Linked DNA regions of Homo sapiens: all the other regions are linked to region 1. The links are contacts of gene promoters, found by promoter capture Hi-C in human tissues and cell types (Jung and others, 2019). All regions are on one chromosome and are shown on one strand. The core of a region is centred on a gene start or on the middle of the fragment in contact, and the rest is flanking DNA. Distances in the headings are between cores, read along the strand shown. Region 1 holds the start of COL6A1 (collagen type VI alpha 1 chain). Region 2 overlaps MCM3AP (minichromosome maintenance complex component 3 associated protein). Region 3 holds the start of C21orf58 (chromosome 21 open reading frame 58). Region 4 overlaps PCBP3 (poly(rC) binding protein 3). Region 5 overlaps MCM3AP (minichromosome maintenance complex component 3 associated protein).

What was found. Contacts are between HindIII fragments. The study calls those that stand out against the background at their distance.
Region 2: a contact is called between a fragment that was not itself captured here and the fragment with the promoter of COL6A1 in region 1, in 3 of the 25 tissues and cell types used here (IMR-90 fibroblasts, bladder and mesenchymal stem cells).
Region 3: the fragment with the promoter of C21orf58 here is called in contact with the fragment with the promoter of COL6A1 in region 1 in 6 of the 25 tissues and cell types used here (IMR-90 fibroblasts, liver, mesenchymal stem cells and 3 more).
Region 4: a fragment that was not itself captured here is called in contact with the fragment with the promoter of COL6A1 in region 1 in 1 of the 25 tissues and cell types used here (lymphoblastoid cells).
Region 5: a contact is called between a fragment that was not itself captured here and the fragment with the promoter of COL6A1 in region 1, in 2 of the 25 tissues and cell types used here (hippocampus and mesenchymal stem cells).

What each region holds. Positions count from the first base shown.
Region 1 is chr21:45,980,469-45,983,168 of GRCh38, reverse strand. COL6A1 (collagen type VI alpha 1 chain) reads right to left here and starts at 1,399. Exons shown (of 35, transcript NM_001848.3): 1 at 1,222-1,399; 2 at 406-535. The coding sequence starts at 1,318. It overlaps LOC105372841 (a long non-coding RNA gene), which reads right to left. Exons shown (of 3, transcript XR_937803.3): 3 at 1,603-1,879. RefSeq lists enhancers at 1-778, 779-1,641. The HindIII fragment of the contact is 42,283 bases long and covers 1-2,700 here.
Region 2 is chr21:46,241,826-46,244,537 of GRCh38, reverse strand. It overlaps MCM3AP (minichromosome maintenance complex component 3 associated protein), which reads left to right. Exons shown (of 28, transcript NM_003906.5): 24 at 816-1,073; 25 at 1,607-1,736. The region is part of intron 3 of MCM3AP-AS1 (MCM3AP antisense RNA 1); the gene reads right to left. Among named protein-coding and RNA genes, the nearest start is that of MCM3AP-AS1, 14 kb to the right of the region's middle. The HindIII fragment of the contact is 7,439 bases long and covers 1-2,712 here.
Region 3 is chr21:46,322,509-46,325,208 of GRCh38, reverse strand. It overlaps C21orf58 (chromosome 21 open reading frame 58), which reads left to right and starts at 1,339. Exons shown (of 8, transcript NM_058180.5): 1 at 1,339-2,570. The coding sequence starts at 2,471. PCNT (pericentrin) reads right to left here and starts at 1,053. Exons shown (of 47, transcript NM_006031.6): 1 at 927-1,053. The coding sequence starts at 980. RefSeq lists silencers at 261-720, 991-1,320 and an enhancer at 1,671-1,810. The HindIII fragment of the contact is 24,092 bases long and covers 1-2,700 here.
Region 4 is chr21:45,649,164-45,651,863 of GRCh38, reverse strand. All of the region lies in intron 1 of PCBP3 (poly(rC) binding protein 3), which reads right to left. Among named protein-coding and RNA genes, the nearest start is that of PCBP3, 6.8 kb to the right of the region's middle. The HindIII fragment of the contact is 3,792 bases long and covers 1-2,700 here.
Region 5 is chr21:46,264,879-46,267,578 of GRCh38, reverse strand. It overlaps MCM3AP (minichromosome maintenance complex component 3 associated protein), which reads left to right. Exons shown (of 28, transcript NM_003906.5): 10 at 437-597; 11 at 1,413-1,654; 12 at 2,056-2,258. Among named protein-coding and RNA genes, the nearest start is that of MCM3AP, 19 kb to the left of the region's middle. The HindIII fragment of the contact is 5,088 bases long and covers 1-2,700 here.

The sequences.
Region 1 (2,700 bases), core at 150-2,649:
AACCAGGGTCCAGGTGGTTAGTGAGGGGCTCCCGCGCACCAGGCAGGACTGCGTGTCTGGGCCAGTGCGCTGAGCCCTCTCGGTCAGCCTGCGGGAGCCTCTCTTCCCTACATCTCAGCCTCACTGTCACCTCGGCCCTGCTGAACAGGTGCCACCCCCGCGAGCAGGGTCTCAAACCAGCTCACTCTGGAAGGCGCTGGGAGAGGCTCAGACCAGCTCACTCTGGAGGGCGCCGGAAAGGGCCCCGGCCTCACTCTGGAGGGCGCCGGGAGGGGCCCCGGTCAGGGCAACGCTCGCCCAACCTTAGGAGGTTGAGGCCGTCGCACCCGTGTTCCCCTGGGCCCCCACCCCTCCCTCCAAGAGGCCCAGAAGCACAGGAGGAAGGTCACGGGGCGTCCCTCCTACCTGTCCCTCAGGTTGTCGATGAAGCGCTTGGTGAAGGACTTGACTTTGTCCACGAGGGCCCCGTAGGGCTTCAGCCTCAGGGCCACGCTCTCAGAGGTGTCCAGCACAAAGAACAGGTCCACGGGGCAGTCTGGCCGAAGATGGAGGAGAGGGGCCTTCAAGCTCTCGCCCCATTCCCCGAGTCTCTGCTGGGCCTGCCCTCCCGGCCAGCCCAGCGCCTGCAGCACAGAGCCCCGGGCCCGGAGAGGCTCTCCCGGGAAAAGGCAGCAGGACGTCCCTCGGTGGGGACGGTGGGGAGGGGGTGGAGTGAGAGACCCCAAACCGCTCCTGTGCCTCGAGGGGAGTCAGAAACCTTCACAACCTCCCCCGAAGGGCAGGGCGTCCCCGGCACGGGACCGGACAAGTGAGACCTCACGGGAAGGTTTCTCGCTGGATTCAGAACCAGCAGCGCACGACTTCTTCTAGAACGGGGGTCGGGGGGGCCGTGCGTCTGGACTCACTGCCAGGTGAGGGGTCAAACGGATTCACGGGGCGCCGAGACAGCCCCGCACCAGCTCCCCCTCGCCAGGGAGCCCCTCCCGAGCTGCCTGCGGTCCGGCCCCGCTGAGAATGCTGAATGCTGAGCCTCTAGGGGCCCCGGCCAAGGCCCGGTGGGGCAGAGCTGGGCGCTGCAGCCGCCCCGAGCGGGGAGTGGGGTTCAGGGGCTCCAGGCCCCCAGTCTGCAGTTCCACGCGTGGGAGGGGACCCCGCGCATCTGGCCCTGGCCGGCAGCAAAGAGCGGGGGGTCTGGAGCCTGCACCCCAAGCCACCACTCACCCTGGAAGGCCACGGCCCTCGGGGTCTCCGGCTCATCCTGCGCGGCTGTCCAGCAGGCCTGCAGCAGCAGGGGCAGCAGAGCACGGGCCGCCCTCATGTCTGGGGCCTGCGGTCACCACACAGCGCGGCCAGGGCAGAGTGGGCCGCCGCCGCCGCCCAGAGACCGAGGCTGCCTTCTGCTCCCAGCCAGAGTGAGAGCGGAGGGCAAGGAGGGGAGGGGCGGGGCGAGAGGGGCGGGAGGGGAGGGGAGGGGCGGGAGGGGAGGGGAGGGGCGGGGCGGGAGGAGAGGGGAGGGGAGGGGAGGGGCGGGAGGAGAGGGGAGGGGCGGGAGGGGAGGGGCGGGGCGGGAGGGGAGGGGCGGGGCGGGGCGGGGAGGAGCGGCCCATGAGTCACCACCTCCTTGCTGGGGTCTCTCCCTCCAGAACCGGCAGCAGCTCCGAGCCCAGGGAGAAGGCGGTTTCCCTGGCTGGCTCGCCGCGGCCTGCAGTTCAGTTCCCGTGTCAGGGAGGAGGAAACTGCAGCAGCTGAATCAAACGTCTGAAAACCAGCGTGTCACCCAGGGAGAGTTCCTTGAAACATCTTTCGGTAGTTTCCAATCCAGACGTCTCCATGCGGGACGCACGGGCAGGCTCACTCGCCTCTTCCCACCAACCGCCTCCTGCAGAGGACCTCGCCGTGAGCTGAATTGTTGCTTTATCAGATCTCCGCGTTCTTTTTTCACGTCAATATTTCTTCACAGTATAGTCGGATACGTATTTGCCAAAGATATTTCAGTTTGTACCGTGGGAAGACAAAGTTGCTCACAATATAGTTGTTATATATGCTGTGTGTGGAGACAGAGAGACAGAGACAGAGAGACAGAGAGAGACAGTGAGAGAGAGACAGAGAGACAGAGACAGAGAGACAGACAGAGACACAGACAGAGGAGAGACAGAGACAGAGAGAGAGACAGAGACAGAGAGAGACAGAGAGACAGAAAGACAGAGAGAGACACAGAGAGACAGAGGAGAGACAGAGACAGAGAGACAGAGACAGAGAGACACAGAGAGACAGAGAGACAGAGAGACAGAGACAGAGAGAGAGACAGTGAGAGACAGAGACAGAGAGACACAGAGACAGAGAGACAGAGAGAGACAGAGACAGTGAGAGAGAGACAGAAAGACAGAGACAGAGAGACAGACACAGAGAGACAGAGGAGAGACAGAGACAGACAGAGAGAGACAGAGACAGAGAGAGACAGAGAGACAGACAGAGAGAGACAGAGAGAGAGACAGAGACAGAGACACAGAGAGAGGAGAGACAGAGAGAGACAAAGACAGAGACAGAGAGACAGAGACAGAGAGAGACAGAGAGGAGAGACAGACAGAGACGGAGAGACAGAGACAGAGAGACAGAGACAGAGAGACAGAAAGAGAGACAGAGAGAGGAGAGAGGGGCTGTCCCTGATATCACCTGGGGGTGGGCTCCAGATGTGGCCAG
Region 2 (2,712 bases), core at 79-2,578, 260 kb before region 1:
GTGACAAGTGGTACTGGGAGGAACACCAACCCTGATCCTGTCCTGCCTGCCCACAGGGTCCCTGTTTTCAGAACAGACAAGGGGCAAAGAGCATGGGGACCATGTAGCCCTGTCCCCAAGCCGCAGCCATGGCACTCAGTGCTGATTTAACATTCTTTCTTTGTCAAAGAGGCCTTCTTCTATGGCTCTGGCTGTGCCCCTGTTCCTGGCTGAGGTCTTTGGGCTGTTTTGACACAGATCCGACAGGCCATCTGGCTGGCTCAAGCCCAGTATGGCATGGGGCTGCTCCTTCCTATGCACTCAGAAGGGAATGAGCTGCTTATCTGGCAGAAGTTGTGGCATTAGCACAGACACTCCCCTTTGGGCCTCAGGCGCCCTTCTAAATTGTGGTGTGTGGTCTGTAGTAGGTCTAACTCATGCTCATTATTGAAGGAACCCAAAGGGAAGCAAACCACTCAGCACAAGCCCTCGGTGCTCTGGTTAGGTTGGGGTTCCCCAAAATAAGCTAAGACTGCTTATACCAGACTCATCTGGGTGCTTGTTAAAATACAGATTTCCTAGGCACAACCACAGGCCTGTACAGTCAGAACTTCTGGGTAGAACTTGGCTAGCAACACTGTTAAGGGGGACTGTCTGCATCCCTCACCTAGACCCTGGGAGCAAGCTGCTCTTCCCCCTCAACAACTGTGGTTCTGCTGTGTTTAGAAAGCAGACTTCTCAACTTCACAGTTGCCTTCTCCTGAGAAAATGTTTTCATGTACATTTTCACCTGTATTTTGGCCAAACCTGTAACTAATGAGGCACTTTCTCCCCAGCCCCCTGGCTCCCCGTGTGCTCCATGGTTGTCCAGTACGCCTCCCAGATCCCCAGCTCACGCCAGACACAGCCTGTCCTCCAGTCCCAGGTGGAGAACCTGCTCCACAGAACCTACTGTAGGTGGAAGAGCAAGAGTCCCTCCCCAGTCCATGGGGCAGGCCCCTCGGTCATGGAGATCCCATGGGATGATCTTATCGCCTTGTGTATCAACCACAAGCTGAGAGACTGGACGCCCCCCCGGCTTCCTGTTACATCAGGTAATTAGAGCTTGATGCAATGGGATCAGCTCCTCACGAGACTTTCCTGGTCCAGTTTCTGCAAAGGAAGATGTTTAGTTGATGTTGCTGCTTTTCTTTTGGGTCTCTATCCTTCCTTTCCTTAGGACTTCCCTCTTCAAGTGAGTGACTTAAAAACATTGAGACAGGCTAGGAAGTTTCTGGTAGAGCCTGAACTCACCTCCCTGAAACAGGCCCCCTAGGATGGCTCTTAGAGAGGATTTTGTGGCTTTTGAGTAGTCATTACTGGCCCTGCCAGTCTCGATGTAAGCTTGTCTGGACTTTGAGTGATGCATGGACCCTGGGAGCCTATTTAACCCAAGTGTGGAAGTCACATAATTGTGTGACTTTAATCAAAGGTCTTGCACTTAAATCAGTGAATTTAAGCACATGCCACCTGTCGCTGTTTAAATATTATTTGTACCTGTTTTTGTTTTTTTGTGTGTGTTTTTTTTTTTTTTGAGACAGGGTTGGCCAGGCTGGCCTCTTTATCTGTTTTTGTATTGTTTTCTCAGAGGCGCTGAGTGAAGATGGTCAGATATGTGTGTATTTTTTTAAAAACGATTTGAAAAAATATGATGTTCCTTTGTCGTGGGAACAAGCCAGGTTGCAGACGCAGAAGGAGCTACAGCTGAGAGAGGGACGGTGAGGTTCATGTTCAGTATGTTTCTGTTGCTTGCTAAACTGTATTTTTCTTGCAAAGTAAATAGAAATTAACATCCTACATGCCAAATCCAGTCCACTGTGGGCAGACTGTGACAAATCCTCAAGGAACAGATCATTCCCATGCAGTAGAAACTATTCTAGAACAAAGTTAAAGCATCTCACTTCATTTATCAGGCATACCTGACCCTGAAATCATACCTAACCAGGAGAGTACAGCTGACATTTCATCTCACTTCCAAATTTGGTTCCAAAGCACAGTACCTAAAAAAGTTCACAAGTATGCTTTCTCCCAGGATAAACAATAACAGTGAAAATCTATTAATGTAATTTGTTGCCATAATAGAAAAATAAGTGGTAATTTTAGCAGGCGTTGAAATACGTTTCTTAAAATTTATACCTGTTCCTGATAAAATTTCTTTATTTTGGGTACTTTCTTTAGCTTGGGTTAAAAAAAAAAAAAGTCCTAACTTGATAAGGCTACCTAACATAAAACTACCAAAATAGAAAAAAAACATGCTTCTTGGTAGAATGTTAGGAACAGTGGAATCAGAACCAGCCTGTTGTCCCGACTATTATTCACTATTGTCCTGGAAATCCTGACCAGTACAGGGATGTGGGATAGACAGGCACAAATACTGAAAGGAAGGAGAAACTGTCATTTCCAGACAGTACAGTTGTCAGTCCAAGAAAAGTCAAGTCCATAGAACCATTCTCAGTTCAATAAGGTGATCAGATAGATAGATCCACAACATGTTAAAAAAAAAAAAATTCTCATTCACAACAATAAACCTGAACAGAAAGGGCACAGGATGGTGGAACTTTGCTGTTCCTTCTTGTTCCCCATAGAGATCCTTGAAGTACCTTCTCCAACTCCATGATACTCTAAAAACTGTTCATCTTCATAATAGGAGTGGAGCCTAATCCTTGGTCTCCTCACCTCCTGGTTTCCCGGAAT
Region 3 (2,700 bases), core at 90-2,589, 340 kb before region 1:
CGCAGAGGCCGGCCTGCTCCCGCGGTTCCGCCTCGCGCTTTCGGGACTCCCTTTCTCCTGCCCCCGAGTCATGGGCTCTGCGCGCTTTATTCCCACGAAACCTAGGACAGTGGCCATCAAACCGAGCGCTTTTTCACGGAGAAACCCGGGGCGGGAGAAAGACGGGAGCGCGTCCCTTGAAGGCGCCCGGCGCCAGCGCCGCGTGGGTTCCCGGCAGCGTACGCCAGGCCCGGACGGGCAGGACGCGAGCCCAAGGGCGCGGGAAGAAGACGGCGGCCGGGAGCGCCGCGGGGGCCTTTCACACAGTAAGGACTGCAACGCCGCGAGAAACGCGCGGGGAAAGCATCTCCGACGGACGAGGCGAAGGCGCACCCTGGGGAGGCGCTGCAGGCCACCCGCGCCACGCCCCCGGCCCCGGCCGCGCAGGAAACTGGCCCTAGACCAAGCAGCCACCCGAATACCGGCCGCCCGCCCCAGGCCACCCGGTCCCGGAGGACGCGGGAGCCACTGGAAGATCCAGCCTGGGGTCCAGCGCCTGCCGCGCCCCACCCCCTCCGTGCAGCCACGCCACGCCCCTGTAGCCCCGCCCTGCAGCCACACCCCGCCCCGGCGTGCACCGCGCCCAGCCCGCGCCCCACCCCCCCCGACGCAGGCGCAGCCCCGCCCCGGCCCGCCCGAGAGGCGCCGCGCGTCCCGGCCGCTGATTGGCTGTGGCCGCGGCGGGGGCGGGACCTGGCGGAGAGCGGCGGATTCAAGATGGCGGCGGCCAGGAGGCGGCTTCCAGCGGAGCCGGCGGGAAAAAGCGAGACCTCCGCGGCGGCTTCCGCCGGACCGCGTCCTCTCCTGGCAGGGGGCGGTGGCGGGCACCGGAGCCGCCCTTAGGACTTCACGCCAGAGCAGCTAGAGAAGAAGCCCCTAATGTTTACCTTCGTCCTCCCGGCCTCCACCTTTCTGCGCCGCTGCTCTTGCTCAACTTCCATCTCCCTCAGACTCCGCGCGGGCCGCCCGGCGGTGACGGGGCTGACACAGAGCAGCCTTCGCTCTATTTACACTCCCTCCCCCGCGCTTGGGCTCGCCCTCCCCCCGCGACAACTGTCACGCAGCCGCGGCCCCGCCCCCGACACGCGCCGCCAATCAGGGGGCTGCGTTTCCGGTCTCGCGCACGCGCGCTCTGGGCGGTGCAGCCTGGGCGGAGCCCCGCCCTTTACGCTCGCCGGCCACAGATTGGTGCGCTCACGTACCCGCCTCCTACGGCAGGACCAGTAAGCGGAAAGCGGAGGCCTGGCGCCCGCTGTGATTGGCCGATTTTAAAATCCCCTGCCAGGCTGGCCGAGCGGCAAAAAGTTCGCGCTGCTGGTCCCGCGCGGGCGGCCCCTGGGCTTTGTGTCCACCAGGACAGCGGGCCGGGCTCCCTGCAGGCGCGGGCGGCGCCGAACGGTGCTCAGCAACCACCCGGACAGGGCCAGGCCGTTTTCTCCCGCTCAGGCATTAGTCGTTGGCTGTGGGCCGCCGCGGGAAGTTGAGGCCTACCACGGAGGAGGCTGCTGAGGTGGATCTCAGGGGATCCGCAAGGGCTCCCTCACCCTTGCCGGGACCCTGGGAACCCGAAACAAAATCCTACGCCACCAGCCCGCCGAATGCGCCCCCTCGGCCGGGGGTCCTGGGTCTTCAGAGAAGAACTCGGCCGAATGCGGTCAGAAAGCCCGCGAACCGCCTGGACCTGCAGGCCCCGCCGCTTGGAGCTCCCGCCTTTCCCGACCGAGCCCGTGTCTGCTCGTGTGTCTCACTGATGTCTTAGGTCTCAAAAAAAAAAGAAAAGAAAAGGTTTTTAGTAGACAGAAGAGAAATGGGGCCGTGGGTTCGTGGTCCCAGGGGGAAACTGACGTCGCATGAGGTCGTCGTCCCTCAGCTTGAGCTCAGCGGAACATAAGCTTGCAGAGGTGGAAACCACGGAAGGTTTGGGTGTCTTGGAGCTCTCTGGACACCGAAGCCCGGACACAGTCCCGGGGTCCGCACCGCCTGTGACCTGTGGCGGGACCGCCGGGGTGGGCGTTTTCTCAGCTGGCGCGCGCGTAGGTGGAACTTGGGAAACTAACTGGAGCGAAGTGGCAAAAAACCAAGACAGGGCCGGTGACCTCGCGCAGGCCGTCCTTAACTGTGGAGTATTCCTTCAGCTAACCCCTTTATTTCATGTGTCCAAGTCTGGTTTCTGGGTTTCTTTGTAGTCCTCCGGGCCTGTTCGTGCGCCTTCACTTGCAAAAGGTTCGTCGTGGAGGGCCGTGTGCTTGTTTGCAGCAGTAACGATGCCCTTCCCGAGCGTGCTGGAGTGGCTCCTCGCTGACGCAAGCTCACCTTGCAGCCTCCTCAGCAACTGCAACTTAAACGCGCCCTCAGGAAGCCCTGGAATCTCGCTCAGAATTTTTTTTCTTTTTTTGAGACAGTCTCGCTGCGACGCCCAGGCTATAGCGCAATGGCGCGATCTCGGCTCCCTGCAACCTCCCTCAGGAAGCCGTGGAAGCTCGACCGCCAGAAACTTCCTTCTCCTGACTCAGGCCACAGTCTTCTGTGTGGTGAGCGGGGTGTCCAGCGGTCTCCTGGTTCCCAGACTCGGAATTGGGTGGTTTGAGCAAACTCTGGGCAGTGGGCTCATTAGAGCAGGGGCCAGGCAGGCAACACAGCCAAGCGAGCAGGGGCTGCACC
Region 4 (2,700 bases), core at 32-2,531, 330 kb after region 1:
GTTACAGAAACAGATGTCTAAGTCTTACATTATTTTTTAGAAATGTTGGAAAATAGATGGTTAGGTAGAAAAGGACTTAAAAACATTTACAACCTTTGAGCTAATAGTTCTACCTTTAGAAATTTAGAAGCAATCAGTGATACGCACAATGATTTTTGTATAGGATATTTTTCAAAGCATTATTTATCATGATGAGTATTTTAAAGCAACATAAATGTCTAGCTATAGGGAAATGGTTCAATAAACTGGGACACTCTTTGGAATAGTATGCAGCCATTTGAAATCATATTTTAGAAGAACACATTATGAGACAAGGAAATGCTCATGATCTAGTAAAAGGAAAAATATTGGTTCAAAAAACATACTTTGGAATGAATCCCAACTTTAGGATATGCATATCATACATAAATACAAGTAGGAAAAAACACTGAATATCCTTTTGTGCTAAGATTAAGGATAATGTTGATCTTCTACTTTATAATTTTCTGTTTCTTCCAATTTTTCTACACAAAACATTTGTATTACTTTTATAAATAGAAAAAACGTTGTATAAAAGAAAATAAATAATAAGCTGGTTACCTTAAATAGAGTCGAACACCCTTCATCAACCCAAATCCACTTCTAAGGGGAGGTCAGTAGAGATCAGTACATCAGTTTTCTATTGCCACATAACAAGCTATCACAAATTTAACACCTTAAACCAATATGTATTTAATATCTCACAGTTTCTGTGAGTCACGAATTTAAGCAGGCTTAACTGGGTCCTCTGCTTAGGGTCTCACAAAGCTGCATTCAAAGTGTTTGCCAGGCTGTGTTCTCACCTGAAGCCTTGACGGGAAGAATCTGTTCCCACGCTCACTCAAGATTATTGACAAAATTTGTTTCCTTGTGCTATTGGACTGAGTGCCCCCTGCTTCCAGGATGAGGAAGATTCTACCACCCCGCCCCATCTGAAATTAGGTATGGCCAGAATGACTCCTTCTGGCCAATGAAATGTGAGCAGAATGGACTAGCGACCCTTCCAAAGTGATTAATTGCTACTGCAAGTGTCTCCATATTTAAAAAGGTCCAGATCCAGACCATTTAAGAATCGATTTTGCCAAATTTCCAGGAAATAAAAATTCCTCCCTTTCCAAAACTATGACATTTGGGAGGCCAAGATGGGAGAATTTCTTGAGCCCAGGAGTTGAAGACCAGCCTGGGCAACATAGCAAGACCCTTATTCTACAAAAAGAAAATTTAAAAATTATCTGAGCATGGTGGTTTGCGCCTATAATCCCAGCTAATCAAGAAGTTAAGGCAAGAAGATCACTCGAGTCCAGGACTTCAAGGCTGCAGTAGGATATGATAGCACCACTACACTCTAGCCTGGGTGACAGAGAGAGTCCCTGTCTCTAAAAAAAAGAAAGAAATTATTACAAAGATGATGAAGTATCATGTTGATACCAAATCTGAATAAGGGTGATACAAGAAAAGATTATCACTGGTCAACACCTCTTATGAATATATATGCCAAAATCCCAAATATTTGCATATTGGGTCCAATAATTTAGGCTGGAGTGCAGAGGCATGATCACAGTTCATTGCAGCTTCAACCTCCCAGCCTTAAGTGATCCTTCAACCTCAGTCCCCCAAGTAGCTAGGACTACAGATGCATGCCACCATGCCCGGCTAATTTTTTTTCTTTGGTTTTTTTTTTTGTAAAAATGGGGTCTCACTATATTTCCCAGTCTGGTTTTGAACTCCTGCGCTCAAATGATCCTCCAGCCTCAGCCTCTCAGTGTTGGGATTACAAGTGTGAGCCACCACACCTGGCCTGGTAATATTTTTTAATGTAGTACATCACAGTTTCTCCCAGGAAATCAATGATGGCTTAAATTAAAAGAATAAAATATCTCATCTCAATCACGATTTTTAAAAAAAGCTTAAAATTATCTAAATAAGTACACTGTATAGAAAACCATTTGAGAAAATTCAAAATCTATTCATGATTTTTTTAAAAAGCTTTTATTAAACTACTAGTAAAGTGATCATCCTTAACCTAATAAAGGAATCTACCAAAAAAAAAATAACAAAGTTCATAATTCAGTCTTTCACAGCATTTCTTTTAAATGAAAAACAATATAAGGATAATCTTACCACAATCTCCATACAACTTTCTCTAGTGGTCCAAGCAAAGGAAAAAAGACAAAAAAAGATCAATAAAAGATTTAAGAACTAGGGAGAAAGAAATTAAATTATCATTAGGTACATGAAGCAACCAGAAACTGATCCATGCATTTGTGAAATCTGATGTGTTTCAGAGGTACCACTGCAGATCACTGGGGAAAGGACTGTATTCAATAAACAATACTGGTACAATTGGTTATGAATTTGGAAAAAATTTAAAATTGGATCTCTATCTCATACCCCACACAAAAATAAGTTCTAAGTAGACTATAAAAAGCAAATATTTAAATATTTTTTAAAGAGGAGGATATATTATGACTGATATGGTTTGGCTGTGTCCCCAACCAAATCTCATCTTGAATTCCCATGTGTTATGGGAGGGACCCAGTAAGCAGGTAATTGAATCATGGGGGCAGGTCTTTCCCATGCTGTTCTTGTGACAGTGAGTAAGTCTCAAGAGATCAGATAGTTTTAAAAGGGGAGTTTCCCTGCACAAGCTCTCTCTCTTCTCTTGTCTGCTGCCATGTGAGA
Region 5 (2,700 bases), core at 65-2,564, 280 kb before region 1:
TGTTAGAATGCCGTGAACAGTTGTCTCCAACTATTATATGTCATTCCACGGGATTGGTTTCCTGCTGGCATTCCATGGTCTCCGGGGTCCTCTGCAGCACCTTCCTGGCCTTTTGTCATGTGGATGCTGCACAGCTGACTTCACCTGGTCTTGTTGATGGACAGTTTGTTTCATGATTTCTCTTATGAATAAAACCTTCACAAGCCATCCTTCTCTATGAGAGTGTTTGCTTGGCACGCATTCCTGAGCACTGCCCCTGAGCAGACCGCCTATGATCTCTAAGCTTGGGTTCCGTGTTGCCAAAGCGCCTTCTGGTGGACTCAGCCCAGGAGGAGCCCATGTGCCCCACGCTGGCCATGGCTGTGGTCATGGGCTGACTGCATGTGTCTGACTGGGCCTTCGTCTGAGACTGCAGTGATTTCGCTCCTCCTCTCAGATCCGCAAGGATGCTCTCCGGGCGCTCAACTTTGCGTACACGGTGAGCACACAGCGATCTACCATCTTTCCCCTGGATGGTGTGGTGCGCATGCTGCTGTTCAGAGACTGTGAAGAGGCCACCGACTTCCTCACCTGCCACGGCCTCACCGTTTCCGACGGGTAAGAGCTGAGAATGGAACTGTGGGGCCCCTGTCTCCTTTTTTCTTGTTAATTCTGATGAAGGGCTGTGAAGGGCTGGCTGCTTGCCTGACTTGAAGAAGGTGCATTCCCTCTGCCATGCAGGTGAACACACGAGACTCAGAATGGCTGGGGGTGTTCCCAAGGTCACATCCTGGCTGTCAGCACATTGAGGGCTCAGACCAAGTTCTTTGTGACTCCAAAATCAGTCCTTTTCATGACTTGCTGACAAACCTAAAGATAAAAGTTAGGGCCTTCTTTATTCTTTCCCTTGACTGCCTTTGCCAGCCAATGACGGACAACCTCTGACGGCTGGGATGGAGGCACCCGCAGGCCAGCCGGAGTCTTCTCCGGTACTTACCAGTCAGAGTGGTGAGACTCACAGACGCTCTCTCAGAAACTGGCAGCTTACACTCAACACCCGGTGCCTAGTTCCCCACCCTGTCTCCTCTAACTCCTCACCTGCCTCCTGCCTGTCTCCTCCTTCCAGTTCTGTCTCCTTCTAGTTCTGTCTCCTCCTTCCAGTTCTGTCCTCAGAAAATTAGACGGTTTTGGGTGAGCCAGCAAGGAGGCAGGAGTGAGTCAGCGTGCGTCTGTTAACACGCTGGGCTTAGTGGTTCTAGGGACCTACAGAGGCTCCAGGGTGGGCGGCAGTGGGACCTGGCGCCTGTGCTTTCTGTTATTTACACATGGCTGTGGTGACACCCAAGGGGCTTGCAGTACTCGGCAGGGCACTGAGGGCGAAGCTGTCTTCTCCCCTGGTGACACCCCTCGGGGGTCTTTTGTGGTCTGGGTAGCTGTGTGGAGCTGAACCGGTCTGCATTCCTGGAACCAGAGGGATTATCCAAGACCAGGAAGTCGGTGTTTATTACTAGGAAGCTGACGGTGTCAGTCGGGGAAATTGTGAACGGAGGGCCATTGCCCCCCGTCCCTCGTCATACCCCTGTGTGCAGCTTCAACTCCCAGAACAAGTACATCGGGGAGAGCCTGGCCGCGGAGCTGCCCGTCAGCACCCAGAGACCCGGCTCCGACACAGTGGGTGAGTGAAGCTGCAGTCGTAGTGAGGGGACTAGCTGCATTTTCCCACCAGAACGCCTCCCAGGAGCCTGGGCATCTGCATTTTCTCGCCAGGACGCCTCCCAGGAGCCTGAGCACCTGTCTTGTCTTGGGGCCCAGGGGTGTGGCTCTTCCTCATGCTCAGATGGTTCTCACTGGGAGTGGACTGAGGGCTTTGAAGCCCTCCTCCTGGCTCCCTGACATCCTGGGGCTTGTTTTTCATGCAAAGCGTATGTTGTCCCACGTAGCTGGTCTCCTGGAGGGCAGGCCAGTCCTCAGGGTCACTGTGGGTGGCCTGGGGCTGTCCCTGCACAGACCTCGGTCCCCGTGGTGCCAGGCACCCTGTGTCTGCAGCTATGTTTTGTCCTGTATGTTTCCTTCCAGGCGGAGGGAGAGGAGAGGAGTGTGGTGTAGAGCCGGATGCACCCCTGTCCAGTCTCCCACAGTCTCTACCAGCCCCTGCGCCCTCACCAGTGCCTCTGCCTCCTGTCCTGGCACTGACCCCGTCTGTGGCGCCCAGCCTCTTCCAGCTGTCTGTGCAGCCTGAACCACCGCCTCCAGAGCCCGTGCCCATGTACTCTGACGAGGTAGGGACTCTTTTTTTCTAGGTCTGGACTCTGGGAAGCCCATTGTGCGCAAACGTCCTTAGTCATCACCCCATGAGGTGGGGCTGTGGCGCCTGGTCTCTCAGGAGAGTCCAGAGAGGGGTCCTGCCTAGAGTCACTCAGCCTCAGGTAGGGCCCACCTATTCAGGCTCATTCTGGAGTCCGTCTTCATCTCAGGAGCTTCCTGTCACAGCACCGGCCTGAGCCCGTGTGTCTGAACTCAACACCCGTCTATTCCTGACGGGATCATTGGCAGCATTGTGCGCCCCCTGATGGGTGTGACCTGGGGTGGCGTGTCCGCCTGGTGGGTGTGGCCTGGGTGGGTGTGTCCCCTTGGGTGTGGCCTGGAGTGGGCATGTCCCCCTGATGGGACCCCAATATGCATGGACTGAGTGTGGGTGTGTCCCCTGAAGGGCATGTCCTG